Linked DNA regions of Homo sapiens: all the other regions are linked to region 3. The links are contacts of gene promoters, found by promoter capture Hi-C in human tissues and cell types (Jung and others, 2019). All regions are on one chromosome and are shown on one strand. Each heading gives the region's core, a stretch centred on a gene start or on the middle of the fragment in contact. The rest is flanking DNA. Distances are from core to core; before and after follow the strand shown.

The links. Contacts are between HindIII fragments. The study calls those that stand out against the background at their distance.
Region 1: a contact is called between a fragment that was not itself captured here and the fragment with the promoter of CD46 in region 3, in 2 of the 25 tissues and cell types used here (adrenal gland and mesendoderm cells).
Region 2: a fragment that was not itself captured here is called in contact with the fragment with the promoter of CD46 in region 3 in 2 of the 25 tissues and cell types used here (pancreas and psoas muscle).

Annotation. Positions count from the first base shown.
Region 1 is chr1:207,700,715-207,703,858 of GRCh38, reverse strand. It overlaps CR1L (complement C3b/C4b receptor 1 like), which reads right to left. Exons shown (of 12, transcript NM_175710.2): 9 at 2,241-2,340. Among named protein-coding and RNA genes, the nearest start is that of CD46, 50 kb to the left of the region's middle. The HindIII fragment of the contact is 3,747 bases long and covers 1-3,144 here.
Region 2 is chr1:207,787,802-207,791,098 of GRCh38, reverse strand. CD46 (CD46 molecule) reads right to left here. Exons shown (of 13, transcript NM_172351.3): 12 at 754-846. The coding sequence ends at 795. Among named protein-coding and RNA genes, the nearest start is that of MIR29C, 12 kb to the left of the region's middle. The HindIII fragment of the contact is 9,415 bases long and covers 1-3,297 here.
Region 3 is chr1:207,750,694-207,754,136 of GRCh38, reverse strand. CD46 (CD46 molecule) reads right to left here and starts at 2,083. Exons shown (of 13, transcript NM_172351.3): 1 at 1,828-2,083. The coding sequence starts at 1,924. RefSeq lists silencers at 1,196-1,553, 2,133-2,242 and an enhancer at 1,823-2,032. The HindIII fragment of the contact is 5,032 bases long and covers 1,231-3,443 here.

The DNA.
Region 1 (3,144 bases), core at 74-2,573, 50 kb after region 3:
CCTCAGCCTCCTGAGTAGTTGGGACTACAGGCACATTCTGCCATGCTGGCCAATTTTTGTATTTTTAATAGAGACGGGGTTTCACTATGTTGGCCAGGCTGGTCTTGAAATCCTGACCTCATGATCCGCCCACCTTGGTCTCCCAATATGCTGGGATTACACCATGCCTGGCACAAAATATATTTCTTAAATACTAAAACTTCAAAGTCAAAATTACTGCTCAGCCATGGGCTGCAGAATGGCTGCTGTTGTCAGCAGGCAGGAAAACTACATGCATCTCCTTGTCCATCTCCATCAGAGCTCTTGCCTGATTGGATACAAAGTCAATGAGCTGTATGTAACATTTTGAAAGGAATCTGTTTTTCTGAGCACTATATCTCAACAGTGAGCCTAAAATATTCAGTAAACCATGCTGCAAACATACCTCTGTCATCAGACTTTGTTGTTCCATTTATAGACACAGGCAAGGTACATTTAGCATAATTCTTAAGGGCCCTAGGGCTTTTAGAATGGTCAGTGAGCATTGGCTTCAACTCAAACTCACCAACGAGATTAGCTCCTAAAAAGGCAGCCTATCCTTTGAAGCTTTGAACCCAGGCATTGGCTTCTCCTCTCTAGCTATGAAGGTCCAATAGATGGCTGTTTTGTCTACATGGAGAATCTGCTATTTATTTTAACACCTTCATCAATGATCTTAGTTAGATCATCAGGACAACTTGCTGCAGCTTCTATGTCAGCACTTGTTGCTTCACCTTGCACCTTTATGTTATGGAGATGACTTCTTTCCTTAAACCTCAGGAATCACCCAACCTGGAGTGCAGTGGCACAATCTCGGCAACTTCTGCTTCCCGGGTTCAAGTTATTCTCATGCCTCAGACTCCCGAGTAGCTGGAACTACAGGCAACCCGCCACAACGCCTGGTTAATTTTTGCATTTTCAGTAGATATGAGGTTTCACCATATTGGTCAGGCTGGTCTTGAACACCTGACCTCAGGTGATCCACCTGCCTCTGCCTCCCAAAGTGCTGGAATTACAGGCATGAGCCACAGTGCCCAGCTGCTTCCAGCTTTTTTTCTGCAGCTTCCTCACCTCTGTCAGCCTTCACAGAATTGAAGAGAGTTAGGGCCTTGCTCAGGATTAGGCTTTAGCTTAAGGAAATATGTCTAGTTTGATCTTGTATCTAGACCACTAAAACTTCTTCCATATCAGCAATAAGGCTGTTTCACCTTCTTATCATTCATGTGTTCACTGGAATAGCACTTTAAGTTTCCTTCAAGTACTTTTGCTTTGCCTTTGCAACTCGCTAGCTGTTTGGCACATGAGGCCTGACTTTTGGCCTGTCTTGGCTTTCAACATATCTTCCTCACTAAGCTTAATCATCTCCAGCTTTTGATTTAAAGTAAGAGATGCATGACTCCTCCCTTCATGTCAACACTTAAAGGCCATTGTAGGGCTATTAATTGGCCTCATTTTAGTATTATTGTGTTCAGGGATTAGGGAGTCCTGAAGAGAGGGAGAGAGAAGGGGAATGTCTTGTCCATGGAGCAGTCAAAGCATGCACATTTATTAAGTTTTCTGTCTTATATGGGTGCAGTTCGTAGGGACTCCAAACAATGAAAATAGTAACATCAAAGATCACTGAAGACAGATCACTATCACAGACATGATAATAATGAAAACCTCTGGGATATTGTGAGAATAACCAAAATGCTACACAGAGACACGAAGTCAACACACACTGTTGGATAAATGATGCCAACTGACATGCTTGTTGCAGCGTTGCCACAAGCCTTCAATTTGTAAAAAGCATAACATCTGTGAAGTACAATAAAATGAGGAAGGCCTGTACTTTTTGATGGCAGCCCTAGCAAGCGATCATGCTGTTATCATTAAGATTTGTTCTCTCACACAGCTGCTACATGCCCTTCCCTTTCTTCCAGCAATGTCTACTCTGGGTTAGGGTTGTTTGTGTGCTTTGACTACTATACTCCTAATTTTTTTTCCTTCCCATCCAGTGAACGGCATACTCTTTATGTGTGCACTGCCCTGGTTTCCAGCAAGGACACAGATTTTTCCCCTAATCTTCTCCTATCTTTGTTCATTTCAATCAGGAGTTAATACCTGTGTTCAAACCTCTCAAGAGCAGGTGGCAACAGCCTAGTTTCCTTCCTGAGATGTGGCTAGAAGGTAGTATTGCTGTGCTGGAACTCTGGAACCAAGAGATGTTGCTGCCAACTCACCCTGTAGTACAAGAATAGTTGATTCTGGATCCAACATGGATGTCTGTGATCACATGCACCATGCCATTCACTGGAACTGGAGGAGTTTCACATGATTTACCTGTGGGAAAGAAAATGTTTTGGAGCCAGGTAGAGTAATCTGAACTCTCTTCAGTACGTAAGGTCTCAACCTGCATGTAGCTTCCTGAAGAAAACACGCAGTTCTGATAGTTCCACAGATTTTGGCACCTTGAGAAAACTCATCAGAGAGCCTCAGGATCAGCCACCTACTAAGCCCCACTTTCAAAAAGACCTTCCCTCCAGATCTATCTAGATCTAGATTTAGATCTGTGTAGAGACCTTGCATCCCTTATCAAAATGTAAAGGTCATTTATGGCATTATTTACTACCAATAAAGTTTTCAAAGGATTTCTTCCCACCTAGTTATTCAAACAGAATTTGTCTTCCTACACAATCTTTATTTCCTGATATAGAGTCATTTATTATTTATTTTCCCATAAGGAATGAAGATTTTCTCTACAAATATTCCTTGAAACATTCTCATGAAGTGAGCATTTCAAGCAATAATCAAAGACGACCTGCAAGAAAAACTCTTACATCCACCTATCTGAACGCTTTTGAAAAAAGGTTTCTCTTATCCCACAATTGAAAAAATTCAATAAGAAGCTTTTGCAGACATGGGAAAGATCCAGTGCAAGTTTACTTACTTTACAACTTTAATGAAGTAGCAAAACATTTGAAGAAGAAAAATAACCGTTTTGAAGGGTTACTCATTCATTTAGTCAATCTTTCTTAATTTAGCACTTATCCTGTGTCAGCCACTCATCAGGATCCTGGGGACACAGTGCTGAGGAAGGGGCCTACGTTCTTGGGAAATATTTCTCAAATGTATATATGTGTGCTA
Region 2 (3,297 bases), core at 173-2,672, 38 kb before region 3:
ACATCACTTTGCTTTTACTAAGAAATTGTCCTTCCAGCTGGCCTTTGTAGATCCTGCTCCCAAACTTTTAATTATAACCTAGGTTAGGGCCTCACATTATAAGAGGTGGGATATGTATCTCCATCTCTTCCCAGCTCTGCGGACACACATTCTAGCACAAACAGAGGAATAATTCCAGTTCAGTTCAAAGACAGAAGGTGGACAGGGTCCAAGGGTTTAAGGCAATGCAATCCATTACTTTTCAAAATCTGAGGACTTTTTTGTTTTCCTTTGATATGCTAAAAATATCCCAGCCCAGGGAAACTGATAAAATGTCTTTACAGAGTTATTTATACGTTGGAATTGAATAAATTTACAAAACTAAGTAAAATATATTTTGGTTTCTATAAAAGGGCATTTTTCCTCCTTGCACTTAAAATGAGTTGATTCTGTGGTTATTTCCCAGTTGGCTCACAAATTCTTACTTTTGGATTCACAGCTGTTTTACAAGGTAGAAGTGAGATCGTCTGATAAAAGGACTAGGGGAACATAACTCTATTTAAAGCCTACGTCAAAGCCTGTCAGTACACATTATGTTTTCAAAGGGAATGGTATAAGAACACATCAATAATTTAGCAAAGGGAACAGGAATGTAAATTTCCTCTTTGATATTTACTGCCAATATCTCTTTGCTCAGGTTATTGATATCTATATATCCACTGAATATTTTTCAAAAGAAAGGACATCTGAAAATAAACAACAGAAAACAGATACCTTTTAATGATAAAAGCAAACCTTTCTCTCATCTCTCCTTCTCAGAGAGAAGTAAATTTTACTTCTCTGTGGGTCTCATCAGTTAGGTATGTGCTGAACAGAGGAAGAGAAAACGGCTGAATAAAATAGTGACTTCAAACCAAAAAGAAACGAGTAGCATAACAAGTGGGATAAAATCCAGTGTAAGAGAGTAGCAGGAAAGCTGAGAATTAGGTTCATAACTTAAGACTTTCTCATTCTCACTGAAGGACTGGAAACATGAATTTTGTGCTAGAAGCTACTTGAACTTTGAAGTCATATAGATCATCCAGCAGATAAACAGACTGGAAATTCCTGTTTAATATGTTTATCTTTGAAGCCATTTTGCATGAAGTGATTCATGTCAAAATGTTTTCAAGGAATAACAGATTGTTGGGGAGAAATGGTACCGGTCTCTAGCACTCTTGATTTTTTTTTTTTTTTTTTTTTTTTTTTTCAAGACACAGCATCTCACTATGTTGCCCAGGCTGATCTCAAACTCCTGAGCTCAAGCCATCGGCCTGCCTCGGCCTCACAAAGTTGCTGGGATTACAGGCGTGAGCCACCAAACCCGGCCTAACACCCTCAATTTTGAGGGAATACATTGAGTATGTATCAAATCCATGTAATATTATCTAGAAATCAACTTTATGACATCATGTATTTTCAGATGTCTCTGGACTTTTACATTAAGAAGTGTCTTCCTGTGGCACATCTGTTTTCAACCTGAGGAGACATCGTTGCAAAACTTTGTATTACATGGCGTCTCATATTTCTGAGATGGATCTAATTTTGTAAGGATGCTTTCTAAACTAATTACAAAACATTTTTGTAGTTGCTCAAAAATTTTTGAAGGGTTAAATGCTCAAGAATTTAAGGGCCAACTAGAAAAACATTTAAGTTAATTTGATCCTTTTTTTGCCCCATGTCACTATATGCCCCAATTACCTGAACTGACCACTATTTTTAATAAAGTAATTGGGTCAGTCAATATTAATGTAACATTAAAAGTCAGTTTAGGTTATACAAAATAATAAATACCATTAATGGAAAAAAGGAAAAACTATTTGTCACAGGTAATAAATATATAAATTATGTAAATAACTTTCACTAACTTAGCCAAACTGTCACTTATCCAGGGATGCTTAACTAGAGTTAAAAAATAATCATGCATTTAAAAAAAACCATTACTTAAATATTTATGTAAACAAAAGGCATCTGTTGTTCAGAAGCACAGTCATGCCATGCAATACAGGACTGAAGCAGTAGCAAAGACAGGGCTGTGGCTTCCAAGACTAAAAAGTATGGTAGAAGAATTAGTAAAGAAAGGAAATGGGAAGGGAAAAGGAGGGAGCATGTGGATGGGACCTGTTTCGGACCCACTGGTATCCTATACTGTTCTCAGCTGAGAGCTATGAAACAGAAAAGTGGCAGAATACTTTAACCTTTTGCCCACTTTTTATCAAGTAATGTAAATGATGTTGGATGATCTTAAAATGACTCCTTACACTATTTTTGTATTTTGAGATGAAGGCTGCAGAAGAGTAATTACGTTCCCAAATCACCATAAATACCAGTTTACAAGAAATACATTTTGTGCCAGGCTTTAACAACAATTTGAGATTATTTGTGCCTGCTAGCCTGCTTCCAGTTACCCCCGGAAGTGGAGAAGTGCCTCCAGACATTTTATAGTCTTTATAAGAAGTTTCTAAGGCCACAACAGCCAATCTGGGGGGACAAGATTATGGACATTAAACAGTGCAAAGAAAATAATGGAAATCTTTGGGGTTTTTTTGTGTTTTTTGTTTTTGAGATGGAGTCTCACTCCGTCACCCAGGCTGGAGTGCAGTGGCGCAATCTCGCTCACTGCAAGCTCCGCCTCCGGGGTTCACGCCATTCTCCTGCCTCAGCCTCCCAGAGTAGCTGGGACTACAGGCGCCCGCCACTATTTTTTTTTTTTTTTTTTTGTATTTTTAGTAGAGACGGGGTTTCACCGTGTTAGCCAGGATGGTCTTGATCTCCTGACCTCGTGATCTGCCCGCCTCGGCCTCCCAAAGTGCTGGGATTACAGGCGTGAGCCACCAGGCCCGGCTGGAAATCTTTGTTTTTTAAGAGTTAAAGAAGGTAAGAAAAGCCAAGTACTATTTATTACCCCATAGCCTTTTTTTAAGGATACACATGGATGAGGAATCTTAAAAACTTCAATTATCTTAAATATTAGAAAAATTTGCCAATAAGCTTCATAGTGTTTCTTCAGACTTCAACAATATAGGCACATCAGTAGTGGGCAACACCCTGGTCAGTGTAGCCCAGGCACAGCAGCAGCATCAGCACTGGGAGCTCACTAGACAGGCAGGGTCTCAGGCTCCACCCCAAACCCAATGAATCAGAATCTGTACTTTAACAGATTTCCAGGTGACTAATGTGCACATTAAAGTCAGAGAAACATTCCTCTAGACTCTGAAGAAGAAAGATAAACCACCCTCACATTCAGTTCAGCTATCAAAATAACATGGAACTACAAAA
Region 3 (3,443 bases), core at 834-3,333:
CATAATTTATTTGTCACTATTATGTTTTGGATTTTAATGTCTGCCAATCCCAATACATTTTAGCAAATAATTTATTGGTTATCTACTGTGTTCCCGGCACTGAGCACTTATCATTGAGCAAAACAAAGTCCCTGCTTATCTTCCTGCATGAATGTGTGTGTAAACAAATAGTGAAAAAAGGATCAAGAAAATAGGAATGGTTTGTTATTGCCTACCAGTGTAATAGCACCAGACATACAAGACCCATATTCGTTGAATGAATGCTCCTAAGGAAAAAAATGCAACGTAGAAACTATACATGTTATTGGATCCTAAATATAATTTGGACATAGATACACATGACGCGCACATGAAGGCAGAAACAAATATGCCAAAATATTAAAAATAGCTGTCTTTTGATTCTGTTCGTATCGCACAATAAGCATGTATTTCTTAGCGGGTTTTTTTTTTGTTTGTTTGTTTTGTTTTGACAGGGTCTCACTCTGTCATCTAGGCTGGAGTGCAGTGGCATGATCACAGCTCACTGCAGCCTTCACCTCCTGGGCTCAAGTGAATCTCCTACCTCGGCCCCCAGAGTAGCTGGGACCACGGGCATAAACCACCATGCCCAGCTAATTTTTGTATTTTTTTGTAGAGACAAGGTTTTGCCATGTTGCCCAGGTTGATCTTGAACTCCTGGGCACAGGCAATCACCCCGCCTGGGCCTCCCAAAGCGCTGGGATCACAGGCGTGAGCCACTGCGCCTGGCCTAGCATGCATTTTTAAAAGTATTGATTCCATTCAATGAAATACAAAATAAATTTAGTGGGATAGGCCTTAAGCTTTAGCTTATGAGCTGCAGGGGAAAACAAGATTAACATTATCTGCCTTCCTTTGTTAGGATACTAATTTCTCACTAGGTTTGGCTACCATTGTTTTTTAGGTTGTTTCACATCTCTCAAATATGACTCAAAGTAATGAAAAGAAGGAAAACAATGTCAAAAAGCCATTAGGCAATGGAATCAGATACTATCTATATTGGTTGGGAACAGGAAGAAGACTCGATGGCCCACCCACCCCCCAAAAAAGCAGCCATTTACAAACTAATAGGAGCTCAGGTAACACGGAGACTGTTCACAGAAGGCACAAAAAGCATGGCGCGCCCTTACCACCTCTCTAACCCCAGGCACCGAGAGCCTGCTCTCACTCAACATGCCCTCCCTAGCCCCAGAGTCCGCGCTCACTCCATTCAAAGCAAACAGTTGAGCTGTCTTGCCCACAGTGAACTCTGCACACAGGCCACTTACGCACAGCACGCTCCCAGCAACACCTGGCCAGGCCCCTGCTCGCCCAGCCCAGCACATGGGGCACAGCAGACGCACTGCAACCCTTACCGCGGGTACTGTCCAAGCCCTAATGAACACCCCACTCACCAAGGCACCAAGGGAACACAGGGCAAACTCTCACCACGGACACAGCACGGGCCCTAGCAACACTCCCACGCACCTGTGCACTCCAGAACAAGCCCTCACCTAGGGCGCCCAGTCCGCGCTCCCCTGGCCGACTGGCTCAATCCCGAAAACACGATTCACGCTTTTTTTAGGGACGCAGCCAGATCCTGCGTAAATGCTGGCCGCGCACACGACGCCACCAAACAAGCTTCACCTCGGGCTCTGCGTGGTCCCCGCATTCCCCGCCACATACCCCCGGGATCTGAGCACTGCACCCCTCAGAGAACCCTGTCCCCAAACAGGCACGGCCTGCTGTGAGCCCCGCCCCGCGACTCTTGCCCGACTGAGGAGAGCTCTAGTCTCGCCGCGGACGCGCGAACCCGCCCCGGGGTCCTACCGGAGAAGGAGTACAGCAGCAACACCATGGCCGCCAGAAGCAACCCAGGAAAGCGCCAGGAAGGAAAGGGACACTCGCGGCGGCCGGGAGGCTCCATGCGCGGCGCGGAAGACGCTGTTATTTCTCCGGAGGAAAGCAGAGAAACCGAGAGCCAGCCGAGCAGGGAAGTCCCTTCTGGGTCCAGATATGGGACGCAACAATCCCCAACTCACAAAGCATCCAGTGCTGCAGGACAGGTGGGCGTGGCCCGAGCCGCGCCCGGGGCGGAAGTGCGTCGAGTCACCAGGGCGGCTGGGGCCAATCGGCGGGCCGCGGGGCGGAGCCTCGGCGTTCATGGGCAGCCCTTGGCCTTCGAGAGGTCAGGGGGAGGCCCTGGCGGAACCTAACAGAACAGGTTCCCCGAGGCCGCCTTTTTTCTTGCTAAGCCCTTGGCCTACCATCCCGGAAGCCTGAGGCGTCCTGCGGGAAAGGACTGGCTCGCCGTCATATTTGTGACCCAGGCAGGGTGGAGAGAAAACTAAGCTGCTTTGGTAATAGTTTCCGGGAATTCGGGAGTCAAGAATAAAGCACTTCGACCTAAAAATAGAGATCCAGAGTCTAGACAGGGGGTCACCGTGGGCTAGCACCCCTCAGGGTTAGTTTTATCCTGGGGCACTGCAGGCTGTCAGGACTGCCTGGGCCCTTACTTGGTATTTGGCATTAGTCAGGCATTATTGGGAACAATATTTGAGTTTTTCTTGCTTGAATGCCTGCTACTGGATCGTCTCGGGGCCGTCTTGTTTTCACAATCTCAAAGGTTTGGCTTCTGCACTCCCAGCCCCTAAGGTAATTTGCCCTTTGCTCCCCTCCCTGGAGGGGACCCTTCCGAATCTAATTTATTAAGCAACACCAGGCAATTAGAATATTGAGACTCTATGGGGCCCTTGCCCTTGAGCAACTAAATTTTTTATTGAAGACGAAATATACATGCATGAACAATGTAAGGACAAGGGTGTCCTAAGTGCCAAATTCCTGGAAGCAATAAATGCAGAAGGATTCGGATGGGTAGAAATTGTTAGGTGAAGAGTGGATAAGGGGGAGAACTTTTCTGGTGAAACAATCTGAGGAACAATACTGGAAAATTAAGAATGAGCAGGATTGATTTGTAGGATTGTGAGTAAACCGGAATGACCGGTAAAAGGAAAAGGACATGACTGACATTAAAAGAGCAAACAAAGAGTTGACATTTCTTCCCCTCAGATTGGCAAAGAATTAAAACGTCAGCCAATGTGAGTGAACGTGTTGCAGGGGGACCAGCACTCTGTAACATAACTTTTCAGTATGTTAAAAGTCTTAAAGTGGACATGACTTGTGTTAGGCTCTCAGTTCCCAGAGAAATCATCAGAGCTGTGATCAAAGCTCTGATGTGATCAAAACTCTGATGTGATTAATTTTTGAAAAAATGTAAACCCTAAGTGTCTAGCAAAAGTAATAAAGAATTTCTGGCAGTTACCTTTGTGTGATGGAATTCTATGCAGCAAATATTGCAAAAGAATACCAAATATGAGAAACTATGATATCATTGTAAGTGGAAAAAGCAGAGTCCAAACTGGCATGTGCCTTTTGGCAGTCCTTTT